Linked DNA regions of Homo sapiens: region 2 is linked to region 1. The links are contacts of gene promoters, found by promoter capture Hi-C in blood cells and fetal thymus (Javierre and others, 2016). All regions are on one chromosome and are shown on one strand. The core of a region is centred on a gene start or on the middle of the fragment in contact, and the rest is flanking DNA. Distances in the headings are between cores, read along the strand shown.

The links. The method cuts DNA at HindIII sites, captures the fragments that hold promoters and counts their contacts. A CHiCAGO score of 5 or more calls a contact.
Region 2: a fragment that was not itself captured here is called in contact with the fragment with the promoter of GUCY1B1 in region 1 in 5 of 17 cell types (fetal thymus, M2 macrophages, M0 macrophages and 2 more); the score reaches 9.8 in fetal thymus.

What each region holds. Positions count from the first base shown.
Region 1 is chr4:155,757,581-155,760,862 of GRCh38, forward strand. GUCY1B1 (guanylate cyclase 1 soluble subunit beta 1) reads left to right here and starts at 1,441. Exons shown (of 14, transcript NM_000857.5): 1 at 1,441-1,563; 2 at 2,207-2,280. The coding sequence starts at 1,561. It overlaps LOC105377506 (a long non-coding RNA gene), which reads right to left and starts at 835. Exons shown (of 8, transcript XR_007058484.1): 1 at 610-835. RefSeq lists silencers at 1,619-1,768, 2,219-2,488. The HindIII fragment of the contact is 7,462 bases long and covers 1-3,282 here.
Region 2 is chr4:155,401,227-155,404,312 of GRCh38, forward strand. No RefSeq gene overlaps it. Among named protein-coding and RNA genes, the nearest start is that of MAP9, 26 kb to the left of the region's middle. The HindIII fragment of the contact is 3,059 bases long and covers 1-2,972 here.

The DNA of each region.
Region 1 (3,282 bases), core at 191-2,690:
TACCCACATAGCACCTTACTGTATACTAACTCTAAAAAATGGAAAATGATTACATTCTTGTGGTGTTTTGTAAACCTGACAATACTTTTCTGCATCATCATTTTCTAGTCACCCTCCTGCTTTTTCATGGTTGTTTAATGTGCCATTTTAATGGTTCAAAATTAGTGGTTAATTGTTGTTAAATAATGATTAATGTTTTAATAGTTGTTTAAAACAAGGTGTTAGATTGTATGAAAGGCTGTAATCTATTTACTCATTCCACCAATAATGGAAATTTTTAAAGTAATTTGTTGTTTTGTTTGTTTGCTACATGCCACTATTTCTGTATCAGTTTCCTTCATCATAGCTCTCTCGGTGCTGATGTCAGCACAATCTTATTGTTTTGACATTTTTCTCTAACCATATTGAGACTGTTCTCACAACAAAATATGCACATCTTAAAATACCATCTGGCTTCTCAGGTCCACTTGAGACTGGTGACCTCACTTTTGACCTTGCCCTAAAAGTCAACTGGAGTCCATATACCTCAGGTACAAACAGCTTTAATAAGCTGCCACTTCCTGTTCCTCTCATCTTCTCTCTATGGCAGGACTCAGAGCATTAACTAACCTAAGGGCCTGGTAGAATGTAAGCTGGAGGTAGAGTAGTTAAAGTCTGTGCATTTTGTACTGGTCATTTTCCAGTTCGTCTGTTGCTAAGAAACAGCAACAGAGGCCCGCTCTAGAGGGTTACAAACTCCCTGGAATTATGGCTCCCGGACATGGTGTAGGGAAAGGTGTCCCACAGGGATCAAGCCTAGAATATCGCTGGATCTTGTACAGTTTAGTAAAGGGCAGGACTGGATTTAACATAACGTCCACCAAACTACATTACTGAAAATTTTTGGTGCTTCACTCAACTAGTCTCATTGACTAGAAGTGAAAATATGTTTTTCTCAATATTACCAGCTTTAAATTTGCCATAAACTGTTGTGGGACCAAGCCACAGAGGAAATGTTTTTCCGCTAGACAAAGATAAGCATGAGGATGCCAGCAACAGAGGATATTCCTTTTAAGGTCTGTCCATTGCAAAGTACACACGTACACGCTCACACAACAAACACGCCCTGTTCCCTTTTGCTTGTGTTAACCACTGAGGGCAGATCTCTGAATAATAATACATTTAGTGGGTCCACAAGAGCTGCATTTCCTCTGCTCCAGAATTCATGCAAGGAGCACGGCTGGGGCTTCTCCACTGTCATTGTTATGGCCTCAAATGAAGGCCTTGTCACCAGGCGGGGGCGGGAAGGCACTGGAGCGCAGCAGCATTGAGAGCATCCGAATTCCCTCCTCTGTCCCTGATTGGTTGAAGAACTGGGGAGCACCGACCAGCCCCCTGCGGCTCGACTCGCCATTGGCTGGGAAGAGGTGGCAATCAGGGCGGGCCAAGGCGGCTGTTCTCGCTCCAGCTCGATGCTGCCTCCCCGGCCCGGTTGCGCTGTAGCCGCTGCCGCCTCTGCCTGGGTCCCTTCGGCCGTACCTCTGCGTGGGGGCTGCCTCCCCGGCTCCCGGTGCAGACACCATGGTAAGTGCTCTCAGCCGGGTGCGGCCCGAACCTCACCCCTCCTCGGCCGGCCTGGCAGCGAGGGAACTGGCCGCGCAGCCGGAGCTTGGCTCGGGGGCCCTGGGCGCTCACTGCCGGCCACGGGAGCAGCCTCACTCCTTGCCCGCGCCCAGTCAGGGGAGGTGGGAACGCCGCGAGTCGTGGCGGGGGCGATCGGTGCCTTTGCTTCCCAGGCGGGTTTGCCGCTCCACACCGCAGCTTCCTGAGCTCGGGAAGGGGAGGTGCGGCGGAGGCGTGGGGTCTTCCCGGCTCTGGCCGGCCCCACCAGTGTGGGAGGCTGAGCGCCAGCGGAAGGGAAGGCTCCGGGTTCGCGTCCCCGCGCTGCCCCCGATGCCCAGCCTCTCCCGGAGCGGTGACAGGTGAGGAGGGTGGGAAGATAGCGTGGGGGTGGGGCGGATGGTGACGGGGAGAATCCACCAGGGATTGGGGGGTTGCGCCCCCACGATCCGACTCCTTTAGTGCATAGTACCCCTAAGGGAGAGGAGTCAGGGGCGGGGTGAAAGGTTAAGCCAGCGCCATGGGAGCAGAGGCAGCAGCCTCGCCCCCAAGCCGCTTCTCAGGTACAGCGGGTCCCTGACGCTCAAGTCTCTCCCTGTCCCCGCAGTACGGATTTGTGAATCACGCCCTGGAGTTGCTGGTGATCCGCAATTACGGCCCCGAGGTGTGGGAAGACATCAAGTAAGTGGCCGGCTACCCTGGCTGTGGCCCAGGTCGGCGCCCAGTGTGGGAGGCCCCCCGCGCCTCGCCTGGTCCTCAGCCTGCTGGCCGGGTCGCGGGCGCGCATCCTTGGAGGTGCCTCCGCGCCTCGCTCCCGGCTCGCTGCAGCTGCGCTCCCACGCTCCGGGACTGGAACCAGGAGGGGAGGGGCGGCTGGGGCGGGGCTGCGAGGGCGAGAACCGCGGAAAGGAGCCCCTAGGGGTCACCACGGCTTCCCGACCCGGCCTGAGCGTGGGAACGCGCTGCCGGCGCTCCCAGGCTCAGCAGGCCGGGCAGCTCCCACGCGTGCAGAGCCCCGAGGGACCACACGGGCCTCCGCGAGGTTCCTGCGCCCGGAGGCCTTAGAAACAAACGGAAGACTTTGGCTCCTTTATGATTTACACACCTGGCGTAAGTTAGGCCTTTTTGGTATGCTGAAACACGCGGGAGATTATTTCTTGAGCAACAGTGAATTAAGCGCATTTATTCATTTTTAAATAAAGTGAAAATTGGAAGTTTTTTGTTTTCCCCAAATCCCACTGCCCACCCCCCCCGCCCCAACCCCTATCCCCCGTTTTTTTCTACTGTGTTGAAGACTTAACAGTTCTAGGAGGCATTCTACTTTCAGTCCTGGAGCTTTGAGCCCAGTACTGGGGATGTGAACGGAAATACCACACCCACCTGAGAGTTTAAACCTGTTGGAATGACTGATGGGTCAGCATGTCTGCAGGCAGGTTGACTATTTCACTCTAATAAAGTTGTCTCTCCTTTTTCCTCTCACTCTCAAAAAATTTGCATTTAACTTATGGTACAGCTGACCACCACCAACTAGCTACTCCAAAACCCTATTTATGGATTTTCATATTAGAGCAACAGTCAGACTATCACATTGTAACAAAGGTGGAAGGAAGGGTTTCCTGGGTGGGCAGATGGGAATACACTGTTATTATTCACTCTGATTTCCTGTACTTAGTGATTTCATTT
Region 2 (3,086 bases), core at 193-2,692, 360 kb before region 1:
AAAGGATGAATGAAGGGATTATTTAAGAATCCTTATTTTGGCCAGTTGCCATGGTTCGTGTCTGTAATCCTGGCATTTTTGGGAGGGTGAGGCCAAGGCCAGGAGTTTGAGACCAGTCTAAGCTACATAGCAAGACATCGTTGCCACAAAAAATTTACAAATTAGTCAGATGTGGTGGCATGCATCTGTAGTTCTAGCTACTTTGGAGGCTGAGGCAGGAGGATTGCTTGAGCCCAGGAGTCTGAGGCTGCAGTGAGCTTTGATTGCACCCCTGCACTGCAACCTGGGCAACAGAGCCAGACTCTGTCTCTTAAAAACAAAAAAAAAAGTTTCTCCACCTCTAAGGGGCAGTTCTGTAAACTTGTGGCTGACAGATCACTCAAATCCAGGCAAGTAGCTTTTAATTAATTGAACCAGGATTGGACCCAGAGCCAGCGTTCTTAACTAACCCCTGTAGTTAACTCTCAGAAAAGTCCATGTTCTAATTCCCAGAACCTGTGAATGTGTTAACTTGCATTTCAAAAGAGACTTTGCAGGTGTGATTAAATTAAAGATCTCAAAATGGGGAGATTATGGATTATCAGAGTGGGCCCAGTGTAGTCACAGGGGTCCATACAATTGGAGTACAAGAGGGTAAGAATCAGAGAGGAGGTGTGACCACGATGGAAGCAGAAGTTGGGGTGATGCAGGGTCATGGCCCTTAGAAGCTAGGAAGGAGCAGGGAACGGATTCTCCCCTAAAGCCTCTAGAAGGAGTGCATCCCTGCTCATGCATTTCAGACTTGTGGTCTCTAGAACTGTCTGGAGATGGTGTTGTAAGACAGTAAATGACTATGGCAGCAATCAGATATTCATATAACCCCTACACTATATTTTCATATACCTGACTTTTTCAGTCAAGATTCTGGTGCTCAGAATGGGAAAAACATACAACTTTATGTTAATAAGTTGTATTTCTGTTGGTGCCTCCTACACATGGCAGGGAAGCAGGATTGATTATGGCCTGTGCAATTAATATTTTAACCTAGAGAAAAAATGGGAGAAAGCAGGAAATGTAATTAGACTGTGCCAAAGAAGTGTAATTTTGACAGTTGAGTTGGAAGATGAATGGTGGTTGTGGGGAGAAGAATTTGAAAGGAGGGTAGACAAAAAAAAATCACCCAAAAAGCTGTGGCATTTGCTCAGGAGAGATATGACATGCAGATGAAATTAGGCAATATCAGTGAATATAGAGAGGAATAGATACATTTTTAAACTATGGTAAATAGTACGATTGAAGTGTGTGCCGGGTGCAGGTAAAAAAGGAAGAGGGGACAGCATGATGTCAGACTGGGACTCCCTGAGTTGGAGGTGCCTGTGATATATGGGAGTGGTTGAGGGGCTGAGATTATAAGGGGAGTGAATACAGAAGGGAGCAGAGGATAGGACCCTAGGAAGCATCTATCAAGTTATGGGCAGAGGTTGTACGTAGCACAGAAAGGCAAGAAATTGCCAGGGAAATAGGAAGAGAACCAAAGAGGAGAATGGCTCACCAATAAGGGAGTGGCTCATGCTGCCTGTTAGTCAAGTAGAGAAGCAAACTAGATTTTTCCTTAGGAGGTCACTGGGATCTGTACCATGCCTAGGTAAGAGCAGTTTCAATAGAGGGATTAGAGAGAGGTGTGCTGGATCTCACACCTACTCAGCAGAGGCCCTTGTGCACTGGAGCTCATACCTACTCAGGAGAGTCTCTTGTGCACATCCAAGCCCAGCTCTGCATTCAATGACATCAGCTTTAGATCAGTGATGGTGGAATTACTTGAAATCAGCAAATGCTACAATGCTACAAATCAGGGTGTTCCCTTCTCACATCCTTCCCCATCCCAAGAGTTAAACATTCACCAGCTTCAACTGGGAGAGAAGAAAGCTGAAGCATGACTGATTAAGTCTGCAAGTGAATGGGAGATAAGGAAGTGGGGCTGAGGGAGTTCATTATCTTTCCAGACGTGAGTGGTGAAGGGAAAGCGCACAGTACAGTCACATCTTAAGACCCAGATAGGTTTGAAAGAACATTGCTTTTTCCTGGAAATGTCCCAGACAAGATTGATTATATAGCCTCTATTGTATCACTGAAGTTTTAAGGAATCTTTACTTTTAATGGCATCTCACATATATAAAACCACATTATTGTTATGTAAGAAATTAACCCAGTGCTTTCCTTCTTTCCTGATCGATTAGCACACACTGTCTTTTTGCATCATTTCTCCCATGTGTAGCTCCTCTGTTCATCCACCTTTCTGGAATTGCTTGGCTCCTTCCTGCTTTGTACATGATCCCTTTAAGACAAATCTAGTTTCACACACGAATGCAAATATACTTTTAGGCACTTTTTTGAAGAAGGATACAAGTGGATGCCCAGTTCTCTTTGTTTGTATGTTGGATTTCTGATTAAGATTTCCTAAATAAAGGGCCCCAAACTAATGTTTGAAAAAAAGGGGGGGGGAGGGTAAACATAGTTTCAAGTTTTTTTAATCACTTATTTACACGTTACTCTTTATTCAAATTGTTCTATTTTATCTGTTATCATTATATGCATTTGTAAGATTATGAGTTTTTGTGGAATTAAAATCCAGCACTGAAGAAAGCCCAGGCATTACTTAGTGGGAATTTCTTTGTAAAAAAATAATCCCATTCAGGATTCTCAAGGGAAGTCCAGAGCCCGACTGTAGGTTAATGAGAATAAAAGAAATGATTTAGCACGTGCATACAGCTAATTTGGCGTCAGCATTGTGCTCATGTAAGGATGTAATTATTCTTTTGTCTCTTCTGGGAAGCCCAGAGTATACGTTAATAATCAAGTTCCAGAAGATGGCAGCAAAGGATTTACTATCCAGAGGAAACATGAATGTAATCATTAGTATTCTTGAGATACTTCATTTTGCTTATAGTGATTAAAAGTTACATTGAAACAAAGCTATTTACATCATTTAATAAAGCTTTTTGAATGATTAGCTTTTTCTTTATATTAGAAAGTAGAAATTTACTAGTTTAATGTGTCAAGAAAATATTGTTTAAATCCATGTTTTTAAAAGACTTAATGTAAGCTGC